5 separate regions of the Homo sapiens genome follow, and regions 1, 2, 3 and 4 are each linked to region 5. The links are contacts of gene promoters, found by promoter capture Hi-C in blood cells and fetal thymus (Javierre and others, 2016). All regions are on one chromosome and are shown on one strand. The core of a region is centred on a gene start or on the middle of the fragment in contact, and the rest is flanking DNA. Distances in the headings are between cores, read along the strand shown. Region 1 holds the start of MIR367 (microRNA 367). Region 2 holds the start of FAM241A (family with sequence similarity 241 member A). Region 3 overlaps TIFA (TRAF interacting protein with forkhead associated domain). Region 4 holds the start of AP1AR (adaptor related protein complex 1 associated regulatory protein). Region 5 holds the start of TBCK (TBC1 domain containing kinase).

The links. Contacts are between HindIII fragments. The CHiCAGO score rates a contact against its expected background, and 5 or more counts as called.
Region 1: a fragment that was not itself captured here is called in contact with the fragment with the promoter of TBCK in region 5 in 2 of 17 cell types (naive CD4 T cells and non-activated CD4 T cells); the score reaches 6.3 in naive CD4 T cells.
Region 2: a fragment that was not itself captured here is called in contact with the fragment with the promoter of TBCK in region 5 in 1 of 17 cell types (naive CD4 T cells); the score reaches 5.7 in naive CD4 T cells.
Region 3: a fragment that was not itself captured here is called in contact with the fragment with the promoter of TBCK in region 5 in 2 of 17 cell types (total CD4 T cells and naive CD8 T cells); the score reaches 7.1 in total CD4 T cells.
Region 4: the fragment with the promoter of AP1AR here is called in contact with the fragment with the promoter of TBCK in region 5 in 2 of 17 cell types (total CD4 T cells and activated CD4 T cells); the score reaches 7.0 in total CD4 T cells.

What each region holds. Positions count from the first base shown.
Region 1 is chr4:112,645,836-112,648,535 of GRCh38, reverse strand. It overlaps LARP7 (La ribonucleoprotein 7, transcriptional regulator), which reads right to left. Exons shown (of 13, transcript NM_016648.4): 3 at 2,085-2,185; 4 at 1,865-1,948; 5 at 1,581-1,745; 6 at 1,409-1,502; 7 at 987-1,337; 8 at 702-846. It overlaps MIR302CHG (miR-302/367 cluster host gene), which reads left to right. Exons shown (of 3, transcript NR_146092.1): 2 at 1-23; 3 at 1,568-1,816. MIR367 (microRNA 367) reads left to right here and starts at 595; the gene lies at 595-662. It overlaps MIR302D (microRNA 302d), which reads left to right and starts at 465; the gene lies at 465-532. It also overlaps MIR302A, MIR302C and MIR302B. The HindIII fragment of the contact is 855 bases long and covers 1,007-1,861 here.
Region 2 is chr4:112,145,313-112,148,012 of GRCh38, reverse strand. FAM241A (family with sequence similarity 241 member A) reads right to left here and starts at 2,559. Exons shown (of 2, transcript NM_152400.3): 1 at 2,280-2,559. The coding sequence starts at 2,432. RefSeq lists an enhancer at 1,649-1,788 and a silencer at 2,129-2,700. The HindIII fragment of the contact is 795 bases long and covers 905-1,699 here.
Region 3 is chr4:112,281,648-112,284,347 of GRCh38, reverse strand. The region is part of intron 1 of TIFA (TRAF interacting protein with forkhead associated domain); the gene reads left to right. Among named protein-coding and RNA genes, the nearest start is that of TIFA, 2.9 kb to the left of the region's middle. The HindIII fragment of the contact is 3,101 bases long and covers 1-2,700 here.
Region 4 is chr4:112,230,517-112,233,216 of GRCh38, reverse strand. It overlaps AP1AR (adaptor related protein complex 1 associated regulatory protein), which reads right to left and starts at 1,430. Exons shown (of 10, transcript NM_018569.6): 1 at 1,043-1,430. The coding sequence starts at 1,125. It overlaps AP1AR-DT (AP1AR divergent transcript), which reads left to right and starts at 1,067. Exons shown (of 1, transcript NR_186684.1): 1 at 1,067-2,700. RefSeq lists enhancers at 636-685, 710-1,657 and silencers at 896-1,165, 1,326-1,605. The HindIII fragment of the contact is 11,290 bases long and covers 1-2,700 here.
Region 5 is chr4:106,314,911-106,317,610 of GRCh38, reverse strand. It overlaps TBCK (TBC1 domain containing kinase), which reads left to right and starts at 1,402. Exons shown (of 26, transcript NM_001163435.3): 1 at 1,402-1,680. AIMP1 (aminoacyl tRNA synthetase complex interacting multifunctional protein 1) reads right to left here and starts at 1,061. Exons shown (of 7, transcript NM_001142416.2): 1 at 1,017-1,061. RefSeq lists enhancers at 853-1,102, 1,593-1,652, 1,733-1,822. The HindIII fragment of the contact is 5,300 bases long and covers 1-2,700 here.

The sequences.
Region 1 (2,700 bases), core at 185-2,684, 6.3 Mb before region 5:
AAGTGCTTTCTGTGACTTTAAAAGTAAGTGCTTCCATGTTTTAGTAGGAGTGAATCCAATTTACTTCTCCAAAATAGAACACGCTAACCTCATTTGAAGGGATCCCCTTTGCTTTAACATGGGGGTACCTGCTGTGTGAAACAAAAGTAAGTGCTTCCATGTTTCAGTGGAGGTGTCTCCAAGCCAGCACACCTTTTGTTACAAAATTTTTTTGTTATTGTGTTTTAAGGTTACTAAGCTTGTTACAGGTTAAAGGATTCTAACTTTTTCCAAGACTGGGCTCCCCACCACTTAAACGTGGATGTACTTGCTTTGAAACTAAAGAAGTAAGTGCTTCCATGTTTTGGTGATGGTAAGTCTTCCTTTTACATTTTTATTATTTTTTTAGAAAATAACTTTATTGTATTGACCGCAGCTCATATATTTAAGCTTTATTTTGTATTTTTACATCTGTTAAGGGGCCCCCTCTACTTTAACATGGAGGCACTTGCTGTGACATGACAAAAATAAGTGCTTCCATGTTTGAGTGTGGTGGTTCCTACCTAATCAGCAATTGCGTTAACGCCCACACTGTGTGCAGTTCTTGGCTACAGGCCATTACTGTTGCTAATATGCAACTCTGTTGAATATAAATTGGAATTGCACTTTAGCAATGGTGATGGATTGTTAAGCCAATGACAGAATTTAAACCACAGACTTACTTTGATAGCACTCTTAATGGTATAACTTCTTCTCCCATTTTATGTCTCTCTTTATGTTTTTTCTTATGTTTCCTTTTTGTTTTCAAGAGAGAGCTATCTTTTAGATCTCCAGTATCCTTTTCCTCTTCAGTAGAGATTTCTATATCTTGAAATAAATAAAAAAGCTCTCCGTTAAGACATGGGGCTGTGAAATGGGTGAAACAGAAGCCAATTAAAACCTAATTAATTAAAAACTAATTAATTAAAATTAATTAGTTTTATCTAATTAAAACCTTGTAGTTTTACCTCTATTTTCCTTGGAAGCTTCTGATGCTTCCTTAATGATGTCTTTCTGAATAATTTTCTTTACTTTTGATCGGGGAGCTAGGGATTCTGCATCTTCAGAGCTGCTTCTCTTCCTCTTCCCTGTTCTGACTTCAGGTAAGCTAGATGCTTCAACTCTGTCCCGTTTTTTCTTTTTCTTTGAGCACTGCTTTTGGGGTTCAGTGGACTCAATGTCAGAGCCCTCAGATGTGGGTCTGGATCTTTTCATTTTACTGATGCTGGTGTTGCTTGTGTCCATGTTTTCTTCTTTGGCTTGGATATTGTCTTCCTTTTTCATTCGGCCTTTCTTCTTCTTTTTCTTTTTCTTCTCTTCTGTAAAAGTGCCATCATTATTAGTTCATCTTACTTCAACTACACCTATTTAAATATTGAAAAATACTCACCCACAACTCTTAAGGCTGGAATGGGCTTATTTTTCACTGTTTTAGGAAATATGCCAGGTTTTCTTGGTGCTTCTTCTGGTGGGTTGTTAAGAAACTGAAATGATTGCAAAAGTTACTATTTTAATACTTGTTTTCTTTTCTTTCTTTTTTTTTTTTTAGGATCTGGACTTACCTCAATTGCTTTTGCTGCTTGTTCTTTTGTTTCAAATTCCACAAACGCAAATCCCTTTGGATCTCCAGTAGACTTATAATGTGGTATACTTATATAAACAACATTGCCACATTTCCCAAATACTCTTTCAATCCAGCTGTGATTAACATTTTTGGGAAGTAACTCCTATTATAAATTAAAAGCAATATTAGAGTTTTTCACAATCAGAATGTCAATAAATTTTTAACTTAATTATATTGTTTCTGTGCCAGTTTCTGACTGGGGACCCGGGTTCTTAAGCTTACCACATACACTGTGCGTTCATCCTCATCCTTTGGTCTTTCCCCCAGAGGTTTTTTCCTCCGGATTCTGGTGCCTTCCAAATCAAGCTTTAAAATAGTATATTACATTAATAAAACTAATATTATTTATAATTGTAAGCTATAATCATATAATAATCATTACGTTAACATTCTTTATAATTATAAACTATAAATATAAACAGTAGTTATTCTTGATTCTTACCTCTACAACAGCTGAACTTCTCAATGCTCTGGCAATTAACTTCCCATCAGTAGTCAATTTTTTCATTTTGTTAAAAGACACAAGTAGTGATATATCAACATCTAAAGAAAATGAAAAAGTTAATATGTTAGTGTATCAGCAGGATTAATTCAATTTGGTACAATTTAACCTGCCCCTCAGGCCCTCAGGCTCGGTGGCTCATGCCTGTAATCCTAGTACTTTGGGAGGCCAAGGCGGGTGGATGGGGGAGTTCAAGACCAGCCTGGCCAACATAGTGAAACCCCATCTCTACTAAAAATACAAAGAATTAGCTGGGTGTAGTGGTGCACGCCTGTAATCCCAGCTACTCGAGAGTGAGGTAGGAGAATCGCTTGAACCCAGGAGGCAGAGGTTGCAGTGAGCTGAGATCACTCCAGCCTGGGAGAAAGAGACTCAAACAAAACAAACAAAAAAAAACTGTATGAGGGTCTAAATGGCATTGCATATTTGGCGACCTAAAATGACACATTTTAGTGTATGTAACTGCAGATTAAGATTTGAACACAAATTATTAGCAATACCCAGACATTCAAAGAGGACATCTGGATCCCATCCTATTAGAAACAAGCACAAGGTT
Region 2 (2,700 bases), core at 53-2,552, 5.8 Mb before region 5:
CAACCATAGCTCTTTTCTGGGTTAAAAGGAGCGCCTCTGCTAGCTCCTGCCTCTAATTTCCTCTCAATACCCATGAGGCTATCCATGACTCCGGAACACGAAGTGAGCGTGCCAAGTAGAAAAGACGGCAGGAAGATGGCCTCTGTCTCATTTCCAGCTAATTAGTTTTGGTTCTGTTCCTGTTTATATCATTGTTTTCATGGAAAAGTTCACCTTAAGTTCTAAATCATTAACTTAGAAACCAATCTTTCAAAAATATTCCATTTGTAATCTGGAGTCCTTGTATCCTTAAACCAACCAACAGGACAAACAAAAATCATCTCCCTAAATAAAAACTAAATAAAATGAGTCCTTGGGATATGTTCCATAGTTGTTAATTTCATTTCTTCCTCAAATATCTTTACACATGTAATACTATTTCTACCATCATTACATGGCAATGCATAATTTCATTTACAGAACTTGAAAAAAACTAGAAAACAAGGCTTTGTGATAACATTACCAAGAAACGTTTTATCAGAAAAGCTTGCTTTTTACAACAATGGGTTGGGTTGCACCAATTTTTTGCTTATTTTTGTCTTCTTGACTAATTCTTCTTTGGTGCTAATGTAGTAGGAAATGCCTATCTCCGGTGTGATTTTCAATTATTGTGTATGGGGGCTTAGAATACATTAATAAATCTTGAGGCAAAAACAGAATGATAAAAATAACACTTCAAAGGAGTACAGGAGAATGAACTTTCATGACATTCAATGAAGGAGGCAGGTATGCAAAGTGATATGTTTTCTAAGATGTACTTTTCATTTTTTGTTTTATCCTTTTACTTTGTACCATAAGCAATTTTGGAAAGACCACAACTATTAGTGATGTCTACATAATCATACTAATGAAGTACACAGAAGCTTAAATGAAGTATTTTTATATGCTCCCTTACAACTATTTGAAAATTTACTTTGGAAACCCCTGCTCAAATGCAACCCCTCCCCACCCCCAAAGGAATTCTTGTGCTGTCTTCTTCACTTTTCCAGTTAAGCAATTTAAGTTAGAGGAAATCAAGCCCTTGAGCAAATGAATAGTTAACGGGAAAAACCACTAGGAAGGGAATCCGAAGAACAAGCTACCAAATTATTTGCTTGAGTCACTTTCTCTTATATTGTCACAGATGAAAAATTACACTCCACGTGGTGATCAAACCTAACGCTAAGGCATATTTTGTGTGCCACACAGTATTACTCTGTTTCCTAAGTAACCTATTGAAACAATGTAAGGTATACATCTATTAATGCATTTAGTGATGATACTGGAATTTGTGAAACGTGACAGAAAGGACAGATGAAGAAAGATGAGGAGAGACAGGTATTAATTGTCCTAACAGTACAGGCTGTAATAAAGGCCAATAATCATTTGAATTCCTGCTCCTTAATGTGAGTCTAAAGAGCGGCTTACCTCAGGTATTTGGAAAGTCTAAATACTGTATTTGCTGTAGAAAATTCATCCAACATACAATTCAATTTTTAAAATTAAACCTTTTGCCTAATCTTTAAGATATTTGATGTTATAATGCCCATTATCACACTTTATTTAAATGAGATAAACTCAGAGAGTTTAAAAAATTACGCAACTTCTCTTTTCCCTTACTATGGCTGGCCTCTTATAACCGAAAGCAATATTCTTGCCTCTCCACTTTTTAACTGAAGCTTTGATCTCATCTGTATTTATGAAGAACGTGCTCTGGGAGAGTCCCTGTCAAGACATTCATTGTAACACCCGCTCCTACTCATGCTTTCAGCGCTGCCCGTGGACGGAATCCACCCACACCTTCCAGACACGCTAGGTGTGGGCTCGGAAACGCAAGATGGAGGGCGGGAGGGGAGCCGGCGTCTCCTAAACCTGGCGCAGGGCACGGACTCGAAGTTGAAAAAGAAGTGTTTACAAGTGAGGCTTTTAAATAAATCACCGCTATGGAGGGCATTTCCTCCGAGCCCTGGGCGCCAGCCTGAGAATCCTCTGCCGGACGCCAGGGGACGAACCACGCTGACCCCGCCAGACACGCGACCCCGGGGCCGGCGCTGGCGTCTGCACTCGCGCGACCCCGCCGCTCCTCCTGGGAGCGCCGTCTAACCGCTCCCGGCGACGACTTCCCAGAGCGCCGGGGAGCCAGTGCCCACGCGGGGCAGAGCTGCGGCGCGGCCCGCGGGCCGGGCCCCTTCCCTCCAACGCCGGGCGGGGCTCGCGGCCCCCGACCCGGCCGCTTCGCCGCCGCCCCTCCCCGCGCTCACCTGCTCGCTCTCCTTCGGCCGCTGTCCGCGCCGCCGCGGGCTCGCCCCGGGATCCCACCCGGTCCCTGCCGCCTCCCGCTCCGCCAGCGCGTCCCCGTCCTCGTCGCGTTCCCCGCCGTCGCCGCCCCGCAGCAGCTCCCCGGCTGAGCACATCCCGCAGCCAACTCCTACCGCCCCGGACAGCCGCCGGAGGACCACGCCGCGACGCACCAGGCAGCGCCGCCGCCCGAAGGCTGCCCTGGGATCCGCCGCACCCGCCGCTGACAGGAGCCGCCGGAGCGCGCCCCGCCGGCCTGGGCGCCTGAAGTACCAGCCCGGCCCCTCCTGTCACTGGCTCGCCCAACCCCCGGCCGTCGGGGCGGAGCCGTACAGGGGAGGGGCCAAGACAGGGGGCGGGGCCAACGGTGTGTTGGGGGGCGGG
Region 3 (2,700 bases), core at 181-2,680, 6.0 Mb before region 5:
GGCTTTGCAGGACCTTAGTGAGTGTGTGTGTACGTGTGTGTGTGTGTGTGTGTGTGTTGTGTTGCAGGGAGGGTAGCAGAGGTGGAGGTGCTGTTTTTGCACATAGCACCTCTACACGTATCCATTCTTCTTTCCCCAGAGAGGAGTCAGAAGCCTTGCCCTCGATCTAACTCTTCTCTTCCCAACTCTAAGCCTCCCAGGTTAAGTGTATACATCCTGATGTCCAGCACAGAAGAGCTGGACACTCAAGATGCAGCATCTATGCCTTCTGTATTCAGCTTTCAGAGACAGAGTTCCCAACTGCAGTGCTTATTTTTATTTCTATATTTATTGTATTTCCTTTGTTAACACAGATATTATTGTTTGTCAGATATTAATCAGTGTTTTACAACTTTTCCATGTCAGATATCACAGTTTACCCCTTTAATAATACTTTGCTAATCTCCAACCACTGTCAATTCCATAAAAATCAGAGGTTGGTGATTTTGTAAGGAAAATATTTGTTAAGTGTTTGAATAGATATTGAAGTGCACATGGTATAAAATTCCAAAGGTGTAGAGTGTGTGTGCAGTGGAGAGTAAGTCTCCTTCCTATCCTGGGCCCCCAGTTTCTGTCTCCAGAGGTAACCATTGTTATCACTATATAAAATCATTGTTGCCCTGTTTCTTTGATAACTTACGACTAACAGATTTCAAAATGCTGTTTTGAGCAAATGTGCACCAATGATTTTTTAAAATCTAACAATTTTAACTATATTATTTTAATTGTCAGCTTCTGTCTTTCCTGTTTTTCTGCTGACCACTCTGAAATGTCAGAGTGTTCAGGTCACTTTGTAGAGGGACTCTGTGGCTTTGAGGATAAACAAATAGATTCATTTCTAAGTTCCTTGAGGTCAGAGATCAACATGGTCTCCAAACAACCTGCCACAATTACCGATGAGTACTAGGTCCATGCTAACATTTATACACCCAGGCTTACTGATACCCAGGTTACTGATATTCACCGTAACCTGGTGCTTCAGAGCCTGTTCCTCCTATGAGGTAGCACTAATGGTGTATTTCCCTCCCCAGTATTAGATTCTTGTTTGGTGCCTTGCTGGTTGTAGCCCACACACATTTATGTCCCCCTTCTCTACAGGTTAACTGCTAAAGTTTGTGAAGTAGCTGGTAACCAGGGAGGCAGTGTTTGTAATGGTTAAGAGAGGATGCATTGGAGTTTGAGTCCTGTCTCTGACATTGGATTTATGATCTGGGCTGGTTTTTAAACCCTCTGAGATTCAGCTCCCTTATCAGTGAAGCAGTGATTCACAGGGTTATTTTGAAGATTAGATGACCTGTTGTCACCAAAAAGTAGGTTAGTTGCCCGCTGCATGCAGAGTCCAATTAACAAGAGTGAGGTCTGGTACAAAAAAAAAGTGAATTCCTAAGCTAGCTTGGAGAAGGGGGCACAAAACGTCCTGCCTTTATCCACACCCAGAATGTGCTGCTTCACTTTTGGAGCAGAAAGTGGGCCTCTTTTATAAAGTAGGGTGGGAAGTGAGCCAGAGCAGGGGGTCCCCCGCTTCCCTGGTGCTTTATCTACCAGACAGTTGAGTTGACACCTTCCTGGGCAGAAATATAAGTTATATAAGTGGCCAAGTGGGCATACTCTCACCATGCCCTCCTAGTAGGTGTGAGTTCAGAGGCCACCCCCTGGAGGTGAGAGTTCTGTGGGGACATGCTTTGGTCTGCAAATCGACTGTCAACTCTCCAGGAGAGATCAAAGTTAAGGTTGTCTTGGAGCACATAGTTAGATATACTTGCCCTGTAGGGAATTTCTGGTCAGGAAAGGTGAATGGTTACATTTGCATTTCTGAAGGTCTAAGTAGGAAGTGGGGCACAGGGAAAAGAGAAAATAATTAAAAAAATTAAACTATGACTTAGAAAAGTGGAGGTACTTGGTTACAGTGTATCAGGGTATCAGCAGTCTGCCTGGCACATGAAAGGCATGAAATAAGTAATAGCCCTTATTCCTGTCTGTATTAGTTTGTTCTCACACTGCTAATAAAGACATACCTGAGACCGGGTAATTTATACAGGAAAGAGATTTAATGGACTCACAGTTCCACATGGCTGGGGAAGCCTCACAATCATGGCAGAAGGCAAGGAGGAGCAAGTCACATCTTACATGGATGGCAGCAGGCAAAGAGAGAGCCTGTGCATGGAAACTCCCCCTTATAAAACCATCAGATCTTGTGATACTTATTCACTATCACAAGAACAGCATGGGAAAGACCTATCCCCATGATTCAATTACCTCCTATCAGGTCCCTTCCACAACATGTGGGACTCGTGGGAGCTATAATTCAAGATGAGATTGGGGTGGGGACACAGCCAAACCATATCACTGTCAGAGTTTGCTGTGGTTTTATACCTTCATAAGATAGGTGAATGCATCCATCAGCTCAGGCTCTGATATAGTGCAGTAACAAATGACCTAAAAAATCTCAGTGGCTTATTGGAAGAAGGGTTGGTTTTTTTGCTAATATTAACTGTCCTTTATGTATCTGTCTTCGGCTCTTCCCTCTGGGACCCAGACTGAGCTGCTCCTTGTGGGAACTGCTGATGTTTTGACAAAAGAAAGAGGGAAGGTGGAACTACACAGTGGCTTTTAAGTTTCTGCTTGGAAGTAAGTCACTGCCATTCATGTTTCATTGACATG
Region 4 (2,700 bases), core at 181-2,680, 5.9 Mb before region 5:
GATTCAAATTATGATCATTTACTGCAATTTATTTATGTTGAACATCTTATTACCCAATAATGTTAGTTAAATGGAACAGATTATGAAAAATTAGCAATCTGTTTCAGAAAGTGCAAAACAGTCTTAGTCCTTACACAAACTGGCTTGGTTCAGATTTTCAATTCTAGGTTTGAATTCCGGAGGGACATTTAATAACAACAAAGCCAACCCCAAAGGAATTTGCTCTAATTTTTTCAATATATATGAAATAAAAAAACACAAAAACGGAATTATGAAATTACTATTCTGTGGATGGTGCATATACAAAACCTAAGCAATATCCCAGGTTTACTCAAGAGAAGTGAAGTTCAGAAGGACTGCAATTTACCTAATGTTACAGGACGTTTGAGTAGCAATCAGGGCAAGGAATTCCTCTCGAAATTTCAAAAACTTAATACGAAAAAATTACACATTGTCCCTGTAGTTATGAGCACCAAGAATCTGAATGCCCATTGGGAACTCTGCAATTCAGCAAGTCTTTGTAGCTACCAGAGTTCATCAGTATCTGGAACCTTATTTTACTCCAGCATCCAAATGACTTCTACTTAAAATCAATCTGAGGCATTAACTCCGGAGCCAGATCCCACCTGCTCTGCCAGGGCTAAAGAGAGGGTCAGATACAGGGATACTAGCTTTGGCGTTAAACCTAAGCTCAGCGCAGGGTGTGTCCAGGTTGCCGTGGAGCCGGTCCTACAGCCCATTAGCGCGAAGCTACCCCTTGTTTCCTGGAGATGATGTCTCCCGTGACTCCTTCCCCGCGTGACAGGGCGCCCTGGCAGGAGGGACACCCCGCCCCCTCTTCTACCTCTTTCCGAGGAGGCCCCAAGACCGGACCCCAGACTGGGCCTCCAAGACGACCACCAGTCTGACGTCTGCTAAGCAGTGAGTGTAGCAGGGCTCTCGACCGCCACCTCCAGCCGCCGGGGGACGGTGAAAGGGATTCCCCGCCGGGGGCCGAAGAGGAGGAGCCACGGGGGCCGGGCCCCTCCCCCAGCGGGCTTACCCTCCGCCGCCGCCTACTCGCTGCAGCCGCCCCGCTTCCTTGCGAAGCAGTCCGAAGCACTGCGTCCAGCAGCAGTTCCCCATCGCATGCCGCCCAGGCGCCGCCGCTCCTCCTCCTCCTCCCGCTCAATGCCCAAACCCAGGCCCGGCAGCTGCATCCGCACGGCACGAGCCGAAATGGGGTTCAAGGACCGAGGGCGGGCCGGCCAGAGCCCGGCGGCGTGAGGGCACGGGGCGACGAAAGACGAGGCGCTAGGGAACAAAGGCAGTGTTTACTCCAGCGGCCGCAGAGCCACCGCTGCGCGAGGGAGGAGCACCGGGCTCAAGGCTCTGGACTCCCTCGCCGTCCGCATGGCCCTTCTCGCCTCAGCTCCTAGCCCAGCGTGAGTGACCGCCTCCAGCTGCCGAAGGAGGCCAGTCCCCGCGAGCCGAGCACCCTGGCCCCGCCCCCAGCGCGCCCAGGCCCCTGCTCGCCGCCAACGCTGCCACACCCCCGGCCTCTCCCGCGCCCCAATTGGGCGCGCTACCTCGGTGCCCCGCCTTCTCTGGCGACCGGCCTGTGCGTCACTTCCGCTCGCTCCTGGTTCAGCCGCCTCTGCCTGCGAGACGGTTCAATTCCTGCGTGCGGACGTTTGTTTTGTTGGACCTTGACCTGACTAGGAAATTTCCCTCTCTCATTGCAGTTTCGGGCATCCTCGTCCGGAGCACGCTGGGCGTGGCATGGCTAAGGCTCAGCCTTCGAACTTTGTATCAAAGGCGTGTGAGGAGCCAGAGTCCCAGGCCGGAAGTCATAAGTGCGAAGGGGCGTTTCTCTGCACGGTGTGCTTAGTTTTTGTTAATACTGCACCATAAGCGGAAAATAGACTCGGGAACTGATTGAGGTTACTTTGAACGCACCAAGATTTTTTTCCGGTCTCTGGTTTGTGTCTTAATTTCCATACTGTTAATGTTTTAGGGAAACGTAATAATGGTGCATTATTGTCCTCGTTTTGTTTGAAAATCAGATCTTCACATAATTTTGGGTTGGGTAGTTGGGGTTCAGAGGAAATTGGCAAGAGGGCTGGGGTTTTTCGGGGACGTCAGCGTTGCCATTCCAAGCATGCTGCCCAGAACTGCTGTAGATGGGAAGAGAAAGCTGCTCTAATGTGTCCGCAGCCCTCTCAAGTGCTACCATATAATTCGCGTCTTGTTTGGCCTCAAGACAGTTGGCCTCACAATAGATATAAGATGTGGTTTAGTAGACACCTCGTCCAGTGGATAGGAGGATGCTCTCATGGACTGGACACATCAAGTTTTTAGCCTGTTTAATTAAACCTAGAAAAATTGTTACATTTTAGAAAGTTTTTATTGATGATAAAATGTTCTCTGAACTCATTTTCTTGCTTCTTTAAATACGTATCTGGTTTCAATCTTAGCACTGCTACTTACTAATGTTTATTTTATTTGGGTTTTAGTTGTTTTGTAATCAGAAGCATAGGATAACATTTGTCCCAATGGTTTGCTTTCAGTGAATGTTGGGATGACCGAATGACTTCCTAGTGAAAGCATTTTCTTTTCTCCTTCCAACCCCTGAAATTAGACAAATGTATTAATGAAATAATCATTAAAATTCAACTATAAATGTTTACAGAAACTGGTACATCTATCCTATGGAATATT
Region 5 (2,700 bases), core at 153-2,652:
TAAGTGCATCAAGAATATAACTGGCCATTTCTTACCACCCATAGTCAAACCACCATTATGCTTCCTCTGGATTATTGCAAAACTCTTCTTATTGGTCTCCTTTCTCCTACCACGTCCTCCTCTGTGTATTTTCCTTAAAGAGTGACCCTCTTAAAAGGAAGTCAGAGCCCATCACTCTACTGCTCAAAACGCTCCAAAGTCCTATTTCATTTAGAATAAAAGTTAGATGTCCTCAAGATCTTCATGACCTGCTCGCCTTGATTTAATCTCCAGTGAAGGACTAAACCCTTCACTCAACTCTGCCCTACAGGCCTCCTTGCTATTCTAGCACGTTTCTGCTTCATGACCTCTGCAATGGCTGGTCCCTCTGTCTGACTGCACTTTCCCAAGATATTCGCGTGGTTAAATCTCCCACTTCTGTCAGCCCTTTACTTAAAAGTCATCTTTTCAGCAAGACCTTCCTGTGTCACTTTATACCCTTCTTCCCTGCTTTACGTTTCTCTTCAGGACTATCACGACCTAAAATACAGTATGTTTCTAATTACTTTGCTTAGTATGTGCCTTCCTCTCTAAAATGTGAGCTACAAGTAGACACAGATTTCCGTCTGTTTTGTTCACTGCTGTTCACCTAATGCCTAGAACGGTGTCTGGAATAGAGTGGGCGCTTAATAACTATTCGCTCAATGAATAAATTCCTGTCTTCACCCTCCTCTCCCCCAAAGCACCTAAGTCCTTTGACACACACATTCACATAACAGTAAATACGCTTAGGGATCGATATTTTTCTGTAGCATTCTTAACTTAGGCCTGCATCCCATTTCTCAAACGTGGCTCCTTTAGAAGGAAGTCTCAAACTCTTTCCTGTTTCCTTAGGCCAGGGCTGGTCCTGCTGCGAACGGACTACCCATTAGCAGCGCAGGCCAGGTCCTCTCTCCTGGAGGCAAGTTAGAGAAGGAAGACCCCTACGATCGCAATCGGCGATCCCCGAGTGAGTGACCCGCCACGACGTCACTCACATGAAGCGGAGGACCACGGGTTCCGAGACAGCCACAGCAGGAAGCATGTAGGTCCAGCCACCCGCGTACTATAGCAGTGAGAAAGGACCCAATGAGGTGTCCTTGCTGAAAGCCTGAGTGTTCTACAGATTCAACCCTCAATTCTTTCTTCCTCTTCCTGTGCTCAGTCCCATTAACCTGCCATACCACGCTCCTCGTCTTCCATTCCCTCACCCAGTATTTTCAATCGACCCCCCCCGTCCCCCCGCACCTCTTTCTCTCTCGCTATATGTCCTTTCGTGGCCAGTTTGGGCAAGGGGAAGGACACCACAAGTCGGGGTCTTTCCTCAGCGTTGGGTCGCGGTGGCTGTGAGGGCGGAAGAAAAGGCCAGGCTGAGGGGAGGGTAGAGGGTGAAAAGCTCGGATCTGTGTTTGGGGAAGGCCAGGCTTGCGCTCCTCGCCGGGTTCCGCGAAGGTTAACCTTGGCTGACTTGGCTCGCGAGCAAAGGGCAGCGTCTGAGCTCCCGGCGTTCCAGGAGTGGCCTCTTTTGTAGGAGCACCTGAAATGCAGCGTCTGGTGCACTAAGCCGTAGCGGCAGCAGCAGCCACAGCGACAGCGCTGGGGCCCTGTGTAGAAGCTCCATCCCCCTTGTCTTTGTGCTTGCCTGCGTCCCCAGACTCAGAGGCAGGTATTTGGGTAATCCAGTTTTCCGTGTCGTAGTGGGTGGGGTCTGTGGGAGGTAGAGGACTATCAGGAGCAGTGAGTGGCCCCGCATGTCTTCAGAATAGATAGAGAACCGAGCTGTGGAGCCGCTTGCTGATAGGTACTGTCTCCATCCCTAGCTACAGCCCGCCTTTCCTGTAAATCAGGTTCACCTGAGTCGTTTGGGAACCGTAGGCTTAGTAATCGCTCTGTCACTGCCTCAAAGGAAGGCTAAAGGAGGTTAGAGAATCTAGAATCCGCCCCTCCATTACTCACCTTGGAGGCAGAATTTTGCTTTGGTTTGTTTCTGGCCCTCGAGGTTTAGTCAGTCGTCAAAGTGTAACACCCCCTTGAGCAGTAGGAGAAAGTGAAGCAGAGGAAGGAAGTTACTTGAGGATTGTCAGTGGCTGCTTTTCAAGGATCCCTGTCCTGGTTTCTATCTATTTGAGACAAAAATAACCTCTTGAGAGAATGTATATATAAAATAAATGAATTAGTATCATTTTCCTGTTGAAGAAATGTGAAATTTTATTCATGATAAAATCGGCGTCTTTTGCCCTATTTTTTACTTTCTTTCCCCATTCGAGTCGTTTAAAACTCTAAGTTCTTTGAGGGCACAGAGTCTGACTTGTTCATTATCCTTTGCCCACCAGCTGGAAAAACAACTGACTTAAAATAGGGGCTTCAAAATATTTGTTGAATGAATGAATTTTCAAGCCCAACTGCTTGCACTGCTGTTTCCCTCATCTAATCTCTCATCTCTACGTTTTTTTTCCCCCGGTAGTTTTCTTCCACTCACGAGGTGTAAGTGAATGTATGTGTGTGTATTTTTGTGTGTGAGCCTTTTTATGTACAACCATTTAAGAGGTAGTGGAAAAAGAACACTGATTATGCTAATTAGTGTTTTATCTTTTTCGATCATTGTGTTTTATTTGGTTATTTTATTTTCAGCTATGTGATGATAAAGACATCTGATTGAAAATAAAATGGTCGGGCGCGGTG